4 separate regions of the Homo sapiens genome follow, and regions 2, 3 and 4 are each linked to region 1. The links are contacts of gene promoters, found by promoter capture Hi-C in blood cells and fetal thymus (Javierre and others, 2016). All regions are on one chromosome and are shown on one strand. The core of a region is centred on a gene start or on the middle of the fragment in contact, and the rest is flanking DNA. Distances in the headings are between cores, read along the strand shown. Region 1 holds the start of CYB5R3 (cytochrome b5 reductase 3). Region 2 overlaps PACSIN2 (protein kinase C and casein kinase substrate in neurons 2). Region 3 overlaps TTLL1 (TTL family tubulin polyglutamylase complex subunit L1). Region 4 holds the start of TTLL1 (TTL family tubulin polyglutamylase complex subunit L1).

What was found. The method cuts DNA at HindIII sites, captures the fragments that hold promoters and counts their contacts. A CHiCAGO score of 5 or more calls a contact.
Region 2: a contact is called between a fragment that was not itself captured here and the fragment with the promoter of CYB5R3 in region 1, in 3 of 17 cell types (M2 macrophages, M0 macrophages and naive B cells). The highest score is 6.5, in M2 macrophages.
Region 3: a fragment that was not itself captured here is called in contact with the fragment with the promoter of CYB5R3 in region 1 in 1 of 17 cell types (endothelial precursors); the score reaches 5.0 in endothelial precursors.
Region 4: a contact is called between the fragment with the promoter of TTLL1 here and the fragment with the promoter of CYB5R3 in region 1, in 2 of 17 cell types (M0 macrophages and M1 macrophages). The highest score is 6.5, in M0 macrophages.

Annotation. Positions count from the first base shown.
Region 1 is chr22:42,647,727-42,650,871 of GRCh38, reverse strand. It overlaps CYB5R3 (cytochrome b5 reductase 3), which reads left to right and starts at 1,480. Exons shown (of 9, transcript NM_000398.7): 1 at 1,480-1,577. The coding sequence starts at 1,557. RefSeq lists silencers at 1,000-1,099, 1,410-1,599, 1,620-1,969 and an enhancer at 492-1,305. The HindIII fragment of the contact is 5,222 bases long and covers 1-2,875 here.
Region 2 is chr22:42,970,024-42,972,964 of GRCh38, reverse strand. The region is part of intron 1 of PACSIN2 (protein kinase C and casein kinase substrate in neurons 2); the gene reads left to right. Among named protein-coding and RNA genes, the nearest start is that of PACSIN2, 44 kb to the left of the region's middle. RefSeq lists an enhancer at 1,605-2,592. The HindIII fragment of the contact is 4,275 bases long and covers 1-2,941 here.
Region 3 is chr22:43,064,164-43,066,939 of GRCh38, reverse strand. TTLL1 (TTL family tubulin polyglutamylase complex subunit L1) reads left to right here. Exons shown (of 11, transcript NM_012263.5): 6 at 2,616-2,750. Among named protein-coding and RNA genes, the nearest start is that of TTLL1, 24 kb to the left of the region's middle. The HindIII fragment of the contact is 3,184 bases long and covers 1-2,776 here.
Region 4 is chr22:43,087,983-43,090,682 of GRCh38, reverse strand. TTLL1 (TTL family tubulin polyglutamylase complex subunit L1) reads left to right here and starts at 1,292. Exons shown (of 11, transcript NM_012263.5): 1 at 1,292-1,406. RefSeq lists silencers at 318-377, 1,126-1,420, 1,185-1,524 and an enhancer at 1,126-1,420. The HindIII fragment of the contact is 9,359 bases long and covers 1-2,700 here.

The DNA of each region.
Region 1 (3,145 bases), core at 231-2,730:
AGGAGTTCCGGACCAGCCTGGGCAACATAGTGAAACCCGTCTCTACAAAAAAATGCAAAAATGGCCGGGCGCGGTAGTTCCCACCTGTAATCCCGGCACTTTGGGAAGCCGAGGCAGGTGGATCACCTGAGGTCGGAAGTTCGAGACCAGCCTCACCAACATGTTGAAACACCGTCTCTACTAAAAATACAAAATTAGGCCGGGCGCGGTGGCTCACGCCTGTAATCCCAGCACTTTGGGAGGCCGAGGCGGGCGGATCACGAGGTCAGGAGATCGAGACCATCCTCGCTAACACGGTGAAACCCCGTCCCTACTGAAAATACAAAAAATTAGCCGGGCGCGGTGGGGTGCCTGTAGTGCCAGCTACTCGGGAGGCTGAGAATGGCGTGAACCCTGGAGGCGGAGCTTGCATTGAGCCGAAATGGCGCCACTGCATTCCAGCCTGGGGGACAGGGCGAGACTCTGTCTCAAAAAAAAAAAAAAAAAAAAAAAAAAAAAGATTAGCTGGTTAGCCAGATGTGGTGGCACATGCCTGTAATTTCGGGAGGCTGAGGCAGGAGGATCTGTTGAACCCTGGAGGCGGAGTTTGCGGTGAGCCGAGATCGCGTCAATGCATACCAGCCTGGGCAACAAGAGCGAAACTGCGTCTCAAAAAAAAAAACAATTAGCCGGACGTGGTGGCATGTGCCCAGCTACTCAGGAGGTTGAGGCAGGAGGAACACTTGAGCCTGGGAGGTTGAGGCTAAAGTGAGCTGTGATCAGGCTCCTGCATTCCAGTCTGGGCAAGAGTGAGACCCTGCTTTACCAAAAAAAAAAAAAAAAAAAAAGGTATTTATTGAGCACCTACTATATGCTAGGCTCTGTGTGGCTAGGCTCTGGGGATGTACGGGACTTCAAACCAGATAGGGCCTTGCCCTCCGGGAGCGCACAGTCCACTGGGATGGGGTGGGAGTGGGGGAAACACGCAGGAGGCCTTCAGCTAAGTGGGACAAAGATCACTCCACAGTGGGACAATGGCGTGGGGAGCGGAGGCGCCGCCGGCGAGGAGGCTCCGGGCGGGCCGTGCTGAGACCGCAGCATTTAACCCGGCCCGAGGCAGCTGGGAACAGTGCTGCCCAGGGAACTACAAATTCAAAGGCCCGGGGAAGGGCCGCGCTGAGCAGCTGCAGGCACAGGCCCAGGCCAGGCCAGGCAGGACCGGCCCCTGCAGTCTCGGAGGCCGGGGGAAGATTCCGCCTCTTATTCTCGCTCCCATCCGGGGGGCGCCATCTTGCTTCCTTTATGGCGGCGAACGAGGCCCAGAGAGGCCACCGTCCCGCGCGGGGCAGCACAGCGGCGGGAGAGCTCGGAGCGCAGAGGGCCGCATCCCCAGTTCCCAGTCTCCATCCCCGGCAGAAGCAGGCGGAGCGACCCGGTCCCCGCCCCCGCGCCCGCCCCGCCCCGCGCGCCCGCCTGGCCCCTCGGCCCCGCCCCTGCTCCGGAGTGACGCGGGCCCGGGCGCGACGGTCTCGGCGGCGGCGGCGGCGGCGACAGAGCGAGCGCGGCGCGGGGCCACCATGGGGGCCCAGCTCAGCACGGTAGGCGGGGAGGGGGCGCCGGGGCCGCGGGGCGTCGCGAGGGACTGGGACCCGGCGGCGAGGGGGCGGGCTGGCCTGCGGGAGGTGACGCGGGACCCGGGCCGCACCCGGCCGCACCCACTTCGCCCGCCCAGCCCGCCGCGCCCCACCCCACCCCACAAGGGCCTGGGCGAGCTACGTGGTGACCGCTACTTACGCCCTGGCAGTCTGCAGCGGGGACCCAGCCCTCCTGCCCGGGGGGCGCGCCAGAGCCCAGCACCCGGGGGCACCTGGGCCCTGCCCTGGCCGCCGTGGGGCCTTGGCTGCTGGAGGGACCCGTGGTTGTGAGCGTGTGTGCCGCTGAGTGTGAGTGTGTGAGCGAGCGTGTGAATGGCTTGAGAGTGAATGTGTGTGTGAGTGTGACCGTGGGTGTGAAGGGCGGGCATGGAAACGTGTGATGGGGTGTGTGTGTGTGTACGGGAGTATGTGAATGGGCGATGTCACTGACTGCGACTGAACGTGTGTGTGTGTGCGATGTCACTATGTCAGAGGGTTTTGCACGTTTAGCAACAAGGAACAGAACCCGGATGACACGGGGGCATCCTCCCAATGCTCAGTGGGCCAGGCTCCCATCAAGGCCAGGCTCCCACTGACCCTGCAAGCTGTGCTGGGGACCTCACACTTTGCGGTGTCAGTGCTGTTTGCCCCATTTCACAGATGGGGAAATGCAAACTAGTCTTGGCCACCGTCCCACAACGCTGCCGCCGGAAGGAGCCTGCTCCATGGGGTTTCAAAGTCCACTCTGCTGCTGTCACTCCTGGGCTGGCCTAGAGCCACCTTCCCTTCCCCCCAGGCCACCTCCTCTCCCCAGTTTCTCAAAAGTTGACCATGGTGAGGCTGGAGGCTTGAGTCTGTGTGGACATGTGGAGGCTGCGGCTGCAGAGGGCAGCTCTCCTGTCAACTGTGACCCGCTAGGCGTGGGGAGGCTGGCACAGGAGGAATCAGCCCAGTGCTCCTCCACCTCCACCTCTACCTCTATGCCTGGCATCTGCCACTTGGAGGGCACCTGGGTCCTCCCTCCTTGGGGAGGACCTGGAGTCTCCTCCTTGGGGATCCAGGCAAAAGGCCTCTTGGCTTGGGTGGTTGCTAAGGAAAGTGTGGCCCAACCCAGAACTTCGGGATGTTCAGACCCCAGGCAACCTTGGCCAGGGTGAACCTGTGGGCATCACCCCAACCTCCATGCAACACCCGGCCCATTTTTCCCCAGAAAGCATCTGCCTCCTTTATTGTTGAAATGTCCTGCCTGTGTCTCTAAAGCTTCCCCTGGTCTCCACCCAACCCTTCCCTGCTGTTTTTGGTGGTGTTCCATACCTTCCAGCTGGTGGTTGGATTTATGGCCACGTCCCCTGCACCTGGCTGCTCCATACATTTCTTTTTTCTTTTTTCTTTTTTGAGAAGAGTCTCTCACCCAGACAGTAGTGCAGTGGCGCGATCATAGCTCACTGCAGCCTCAACCTCTTGGGCACAAGTGATCCTTCTACCTCAGTGTCCTGAGTACAGGCACGTGCCAATATGCCTGGCTAAGTTTT
Region 2 (2,941 bases), core at 401-2,900, 320 kb before region 1:
AAAATCCAGGTGTGTGCTTTTATTTCTAGAATTTTGTCCTGTCTGAAATGTAGGAAGATGCTGTTATAAAGAAGCACATTCAAAGCCATTTAAAAGCACGGTTGAGCTGGGTGCAGTGGCATGCATCTGTAATCCAGGTACACAGGAGGCTGAGGCGGGAACATGGCTTCAGCCCAGGAGTTGAAGTCCAGCCTGGGCAACATAAGAAAAAAAAAAGTAAAAGCATGGCTGACTTTTCTTAGAGTGAGGCAGTAGACTGTGTGCTTCCTGGCGTGGTGTCCAGGTCGGAAAGCCCAGAGGTGGAATTCTCCTTTGGCCACTTTGGGCCCATCCTGGTGCAGAGCTACAACTTCAGGTTTCCTAGTGCACAGTTCTGATCATATCTTTTTTTCCTAGATGTATAAGGAACTATTTTTCTAAAATGGTGGTGGTTTAAAATATATATATATATATTTAGTATTTATTGATGATTCTTGGGTGTTTCTCGGAGAGGGGGATTTGGCAGGGTCATAGGACAATAGTGGAGGGAAGGTCAGCAGATAAACATGTGAACAAGGGTCTCTGGTTTTCCTAGGCAGAGGACCCTGCGGCCTTCCGCAATGTTTATGTCCCTGGGTACTGGAGCTTAGGGAGTGGTGATGACTCTTAAAGAGCATGCTGCCTTCAAGCATCTGTTTAACAAAGCACATCGTGCACCGCCCTTAATCCATTTAACCCTGAGTGGACACAGCACATGTTTCAGAGAGCACGGGATTGGGGGCAAGGCCATAGATCAACAGCGTCCCAAGGCAGAAGAATCTTTCCTAGCACAGAACAAAATGGAGTCTCCTATGTCTACTTCTTTCCACACAGACACAGTAACAATCCGACTTCTCTTTCTTTTCCCCACATTTCCCCCCCCCATTGGACAAAACCGCCATTGTCATCATGGCCCGTTCTCAATGAGCTGCTGGGTACACCTCCCAGACGGGGTGGCGGCCGGGCAGAGGGGCTCCTCACCTCCCAGACGGGGCGGCCGGGCAGAGGCACCCCCCACCTTCCAGACGGGGCGGCGGCCGGGTGGAGGCTGCCCCCCACCTCCCGAACGGGGCTGCTGGCTGGGCGGGGGCTGCCCCCCACCTCCCTCCCGGACGGGGCTGCTGGCCGGGCGGGGGCTGCCCCCCACCTCCCTCCCGGATGGGGCGGCTGGCCGGGCGGGGGCTACCCCCCACCTCCCGGACGGGGCGGCTGCCGGACAGAGATGCTCCTCACTTCCCAGACAGGGCGGCTGCCCGGCGGAGGGGCTCCTCACTTCTCAGACGATGGGCGGCCGGGCAGAGACGCTCCTCACTTCCCAGACATGGTGGCGGTTGGGCAGAGACACTCCTCACTTCCCAGACTGGGTGGCCGGGCAGAGGGGCTCCTCACATCCCAGACGATGGGCTGCCAGGCAGAGACGCTCCTCACTTCCCAGATGGGGTGGCGGCCGGGCAGAGGCTGCACTCTTGGCACTTTGGGAGGCCAAGGCAGGCGGCTGGGAGGTGGGGGTTGTAGCGAGCCGAGATCACGCCACTGCACTCCAGCCTGGGCAACATAGAGCACTGAGTGAGCGAGACTCCGTCTGCAGTCCTGGCACCTCGGGAGGCTGAGGCGGGCAGATCACTTGCGGTCGGGAGCTGGAGACCAGCCCGGCCAACACGGCGAAACCCCGTCTCCACCAAAAAATACAAAAACCAGTCAGGCGTGGCGGCGCGCGCCTGCAATCCCAGGCGCTTGGCAGGCTGAGGCAGGAGAATCAGGCAGGGAGGCTGCAGTGAGCCGAGATGGCGGCAGTACAGTCCAGCTTTGGCTCGGCATCAGAGGGAGACCGTGGAGGGAGAGGGAGAGGGAGAATATTTTTATCATGGTGGTTTGTAATGCCACCTCCTTTCATTGTTTTTAGCTTAGCGTTAGCCTGCAGACCCTCAGAAACTGCTGAGTGGTGAGAGGTGGTGCAGGGGTAGGCTGTAGCAGAGAGGGCTGTGGAGAGGCTGGGGGCAGGGCAGGGTGGTGCAGGGAGCCTGGGTCGCTGTCTGACCGCACAGCTGTGGGTGGCGTGGGGAGGCGCTGCAGGCCAGCCTCCCATCTCATGGTCAGCACTGCTTGTTACCACAAGCACTCCATATCTGGTGGTGCACTGCCATGGAGCACCTCGGGTGACATCAGCTTACACGGGGCCCTGCCTTCCTTTCCAGGTGCTTGCTTACTTAAAGATTTTAACAAATCATTTGATTTCTTTAGGCTTCATCTTCCTTGGCTAAATTTTAAAAAGAAGACCACATTGTCCCTGACTCCTTTTTGCAAAGGACGTAATGAATGTTCGTTAAACTTTTGTATTATTATTTCTATAATAAACTTTTTATTTTACAAGAATTCTATATGTGCAGAAAAGTTGCAAAACTAATAGAGTTCCTGTCTACCTTTTGCCTGACTTTCTCTAATGTTAACATTTTATGTAACCATAGCTTATTTTTTGAAATTAAGAAATTAACATTGATGCAGTATTACTGAATAAACTATGGACTTTCTTTGGATTTCACCAGTTTTCCCACTGATGTTTTCTTGCAGTTCTAGGATCCCATCCAGGTCCTTGATGATTTTTCCTAGTATTAGATTGGTGGATGAATTTGGGGAGAGTCCCACAGAGGTGAAGTGCCCTTTTCATTACATCATCTCAGGAGGCACCTGATACTGCCATGACTCACCACCGTGATGTTAACCTTGCGGGTTTACTTTAGTCGTTCTCCTTTTTAAATGTGATTCAGGTGGCACTGGTTCCCCAAAAGATTGCTGATCCCTTCAGGCCAGGACCCTGCTCTGCTTGCTTTGTGCCTCTTCCCAGCGTGAGGACTTGGGCTGTGGTGCCAGTGTCGAAGGGGGCATGCCAGGTCAGGTGGAGATGCATTTGGGTTCTGTGATTTTG
Region 3 (2,776 bases), core at 186-2,685, 420 kb before region 1:
CTCAGCTCACTGCAACCTCACGCCTCCCAGGTTCAAGCGATCTGCCTACCTCAGCCTCCCAAGTAGCTGGGATCACAGGCACCCACCATGCCTGGCTAATTTTTTTATTTTTAGTAGAGATGGGGTTTTACCATGTTGGCCAGGCTGGTCTCTAACTCTTGACCTCAAGTGATCCACCCACCTTGGCCTCCCAAAGTGCTAGTATTACAGGGGGTGAGCCACTGTGTGTGGCCTAAAAAAAAATTTTTTTTTTTTTAAGACGGGATCATGGCTCACTGCAACCTCAACCTCCTAGGCCCAAGCGATCCTCCCACCTCAGCCTCCTGAGTAGCTGAGACTATAGGTACACACGACCACACCTGGCTAATTTTTCTTTTTTGTAGAGGCAGGGTTTCATCATGTTGCCCAGGTTGATCTCAAATTCCCGGGCTCAAGTGATCTGCCTGCCTCAGCCTCCCAAAGTGCTGGGACTACAGGTGTCAGCCACCATGCCCGGCCATGCTTAAATCTAATTACACTTTGCTAGCCCCCAGATGGCCAGGCCCGAGGAGCATTTCCCTGAGTGGACTCCTGGGGACTGTCCTGCAGCTGCTTGCACTGTCCCCTGGGGCAGGGGGTGTGTCCTCCATGGATACACCCCACCCCCATTTCCTTCCTGATGACCCAGCCCCTCACAGTGAGAGGCCGGGAGCGTGTTGCCAGCTGACGAGATGCACCTTTGGTCTTTACCATCCATTTTTTTTCTAGTAGCTTGATTTTTTTTTTAATTTTTTTTTTTTTTGAGACAGTGTCTCGCTCTGTCTCCCAGGCTGGACTGCAGTGGTGCGATCTCAGCTCACTGCAACCTCCACGTCCCAGGTTCAAGCGATTCTCCTGCCTCAGCCTCCTGAGTAGCTGGGACTACAGGCACCCGCCACCACACCTGGCTAATTTTTGTATTTTTAGTAGAGACAGGGTTTCACCATGTTGGTTAGGCTGGTCTTGAACTCCTGACCTCGTGATCCTCCTGCCTCGGCTTCCCAAAGTGCTGGGATTACAGGCCTCCAGTAGCTTGATTTTTTTAGAGCAGTTTTAGGTTTACTGCACAATTGAAGAAGATACAGAGATTTTTTTTTTCCTATACCCCTTCCCCACACATGCACGGCCTCCCCCCTTATCAGCATCCCCTACCAGAATTGTTAAAGTTAGCAAACTGATTAGCTGGGTGTCGTGGCACATGCCTGTAGTCTCAGCTACTTGCCAGGCTGAGGTGAGACTATCACTTGAGCCCAGGAGACTGCAGTGAGCTGTGATCGCACCACTGCACTCCAGCCTGGGCAACACAGCAAGACCATCTCAAAAAAAAAAATTTGGCCATGTGTGTGGCACAAGCCTGTAATCCCAGCACTTTGGGAGGCCAAGGCAGGCGGATCACTTGAGGTCAGGAGTTTGAGACTAGCCTGGCCGACATGGCAAAATCCTGTCTCTACTAAAAATACAAAAATTAGCCAGGCATGGTGGCTGGCGTCTGTAATCCCAGCTACTCAGGAGGCTGAGGCAGGAGAATCATTTTAACCCAGGAGGTGGAGGTTGCAGTGAGCCAAGATCACGCCAGTGCACTCCAGCCTGGGTGACAGAGGAAGACTGTGTCTCAAAAATATATATATATAAATAAAAATTGGCAGACTGACACCAGCCCATCATCACCCAAAGGCCATAGTTCACATTAGGGTTTACTCTTAGTGTTGTCCATTTTGGGAGCTTAGACAAATGTATAGTGACATGGATCCACCATTATTTTATTTATTTATTTTTTGAGATGGAGTCTTGCTCTATTGCCCAGGCTGGAGTGCGGTGGCAGGATCTTGGTTCACTGCAAACTCTGCCTCCCGGGTTCAAGCGATTATCCTGCCTCAGCCTCTGGAGTAGCTGGAATTACAGGCACCCGCCCCCATGCCTGGCTATTTTTGTATTTTTAGTAGAGACAGGGTTTCACCATGTTGGCCAGGCTGGTCTCGAACTCCTGACCTCAGGTGATCCACCCGCCTCGGCCTCCCAAAGTGCTGGGATTACAGGCGTGAGCCACCAAGCTCGTCCAGATCCACCATCATAGTAACATACGGAGTAGTTTCACTGCCCTCAAAATCCTCTGTGCTCTGCCTGTTTATCCCTAGTCTGTGGCAACCACAGATCTTTTTACTGTCTTTATTTATTTATTTACTTATTTATTTATTTGAGATGGAGTCTTGCTCTGTCACCCAGGCTGGAGTGCAGTGGTGCCATCTCAGCTCACTGCAACCTCCACCTCTTGGGTTCAAGTGATTCTCCTGCCACAGCCTCCTGAGTATCTGGGACTACAGGCACACACCACCACACCGGGCTAATTTTTTTTCTTTTTAGCAGAGACGGGGTTTCACCGTGTTGACCAGGCTCGTCTTGAACTCCCGACCTGAAGTGATCCACCCGCCTCGCCTCCCAAAGTGCTGGGATTACAGGCGTGAGCCACCGCGCCCAGCCAAAACTCTTTAATTTTTTAATTTTAATGAAGTCCGGCTTATCAGTTATTCCTTTCTTGGATTGTGTCTTCGTTATTGCATCTTTTACCATCTAATTTTTACTTTCTCTGCCATGTTTAGGTTTGTGTCTCAATCTAATAAGGAAGCCTACGTGATCTCTCTCTATATTAACAACCCGTTACTAATTGGCGGGAGGAAGTTCGACCTGCGCTTGTACGTTCTGGTGTCCACGTACCGTCCACTGCGCTGTTACATGTAAGCGTCCCTAAGGTTTTGGTTCC
Region 4 (2,700 bases), core at 43-2,542, 440 kb before region 1:
TTAGAAATGGGGTCTTGCTATATTGGCCAGGCTGGTCTGGAACTCCTGACCTCAAGTGATCCTCCCATCTTGGCCTCCCAAAGTACAGGGATTGCAGGCATGAGGCAACATGCTGGAAGGCTACAATGTTTATTGAACACTTTACTATGCCAGGCCCTAACCACGTCTTGCAAGCCTTCACTCATCTCCTGGGTTTAAGGTGAGAACACTGTAGTCGGAAGCCTTGGGACTTCTCAAGGCCTCACAACCAGACAGCAGCTGAAGGGTATGAATTGGCAATTTGGACTCCAGATAAGTGTTGGTTCCACTAGATGGTGCCAAAAGTAAATGATGATGCGCTGAATGTGCTCTGGGCCTGGGAGGCGGTTGTGTGGGAGATTATAGGAAGTGATGTTAGCAAAGCTCCAATCATCACTAAGAAAGCACACCACCACCCCTCCTGAGAGGCAGCAGCATGAATGGTCAGGTGTCCTGGGTTCAAAGCCAGACTCTGTCACTTACAAGTTGCACAAGTTTGCATAACTCTTTAAATTGATGAAATTAAAAATGAATAATTGTATAGAGAATTCGAGGTAACACAGGTCTATAACGAGAATAATAAACGTCTTTTTTTTTTTTTTTTGAGGCGGAGTCTTGTTCTGTCGCCCAGGCTTGAGTGCAGTGGCACGATCTTGGCTCACTGCAACCTCTGTCTCCCGGGTTCAAGCGATTCTCTTGCCTCAGCCTAGCCAGGATGGTCTCGATCTCCTGACCTCGCGACCCACCCGCCTCTGCCTCCCAAAGTGCTGGGATTACAGGCGTGAGCCACCGAGTCTGGCCCAGATAAACACTTTTTAAAAAAAATTATTTTATTTTTATGTTATTATTATTATTATTATTTGAGATGGAGTCTCGCTCTATCGCCCAGGCTGGAGTGCAGTGGCGCAACATCACCATTTCTTCAGATAAGGAAGCCGAGGTAGAAGGGGTAGGAGAGGCTAAACAGCGGATTGAGACCGAACCCAGGATTCGGACCTAATCATCACACCGCTCTACCTTTCTTTTTAGACTTAATCCCGTGCTCCAGACCCTTCTCAATCTCCTTTCTGGGCCCCGAGAGGGTGGACGGCCTGGCATTTCCTAGGATCCAAGCCCTGGGCATAGCGGCCGCCCGAGGTATGGAGCCCAAAGGAGCCCCAGGCAAGTCTGACTCCGGAAATAGTCGCAGCGCCGGCGGTCGCGTCCTGGGTTGCCAGGGCGCCGCCCTGGAAGTAGAGTGCAGCGCGGGGCGGGGCGGGCCGGTGCGCCTGGCAGTCGGCTGCGTACTCCTGCGAGCGCCGGAGAGGGGCTGGAGGCGGGGCGAGGGCGCGGCTCGAGGCATCCCTGCAGGGCGCTCCTCCGAGTCCCTCGGCGCTCTGAGCCCACAGGTGAGGTCCTGTCCCCCAGGCCGCCGCCTCCCGGGCACCGAGGGTGTGGCTGCGCGCGGGCTGGCGAGTGCGCATGGGTGAGAGAGTGTGGGCGCCAGTGTCTACGCGGCTGCGAAAATGCGGTTCAGATGCTGCTTGCCGGATCCGCGTCCTCCAGGAAGCCCGCGCTAACCACCGTGCCTTTCTCCGTCCGCTGAGTTCCTATGACTTACCTCGTGCTGTCCGACTGTTGCAATTGCATCATTATGTTTATTATTTGTTATCCCAGACTTTCATTGTTCCTACACGTTTCCCATTCGTTTGCAATCTGTGTTGTTTCTGTTGGCATCTTTTGCAGGGCGCAATGTACCTGTGGAGAGAACTCAGGGCAGGAGACAAGAGCCTTGTGTCTTCCCTCTAGATGACTGGACCAAGACATTTCCCCTCTCTGATTCCCTATCAGCTAAGAGGGCAGGGCGGGGTAGTCATCCTTTTCCATAGAGTAGCTGGGGCATTAGAGGAGATTAATTCTGGAAGTGAAAGTATCTTATCATTGTTAGCCCTTTTGGCATTTGCAAAGCAGGTTCTTTGCTCAGGAAACGTTTGATGAGCACATTATGGTGCCGGGTTGTGGCGGTACAAAAAGATGGGCCCCGGCCGGGCACGGTGGCTCACGCCTGTAATCCCAGCACTTTGGGAGGCCGAGGCGGGAGGATCACGAGGTCAGGAGATCGAGACCATCCTGGCTAACACGGTGAAACCCCGTCTATACTAAAAATACAAAAAAAAAAAAATTAGCCGGGCATGGTGGCGGGGGCCTGTAGTCCCAGCTACTCGGGAGGCTGAGGCAGGAGAATGGCGTGAACCCGGGAGGCGGAGCTTGCAGTGAGCCGAGATTGCGCCACTGCACTCCAGCCTGGGCGACAGAGCGAGATTCTGTCTCAAAAAAAAAAAAAAAAAAAAAAAAAAAAAAGATGGGCCCTTCTCTGCCCTCAAATTACAGACACTGGTAAGCAGTCACTGTGGAGCATGGTACTGTCACCCAGTGCGGGCGTGGAGATGGACAGTGACAATACCGCTGTGAACGAATGCCCTGCTCAACATGAAGTCATCACTGACATTGTTATTACTTTATTTATTTATTTATTTATTTTTAGACGGAGTCTTGCTTTGTTGCCCAGGCTGGAGTGCGGTCGCTCTCGGCTCACTGCAACCTCTGCCTCCTGGGTTCAAGCGATTCTCCTGCCTCAGCCTCCCATGTAGCTGTGATTACAGGCACGCGCCACCATGCCCCGCTAATTTTTTAAATTTTAGT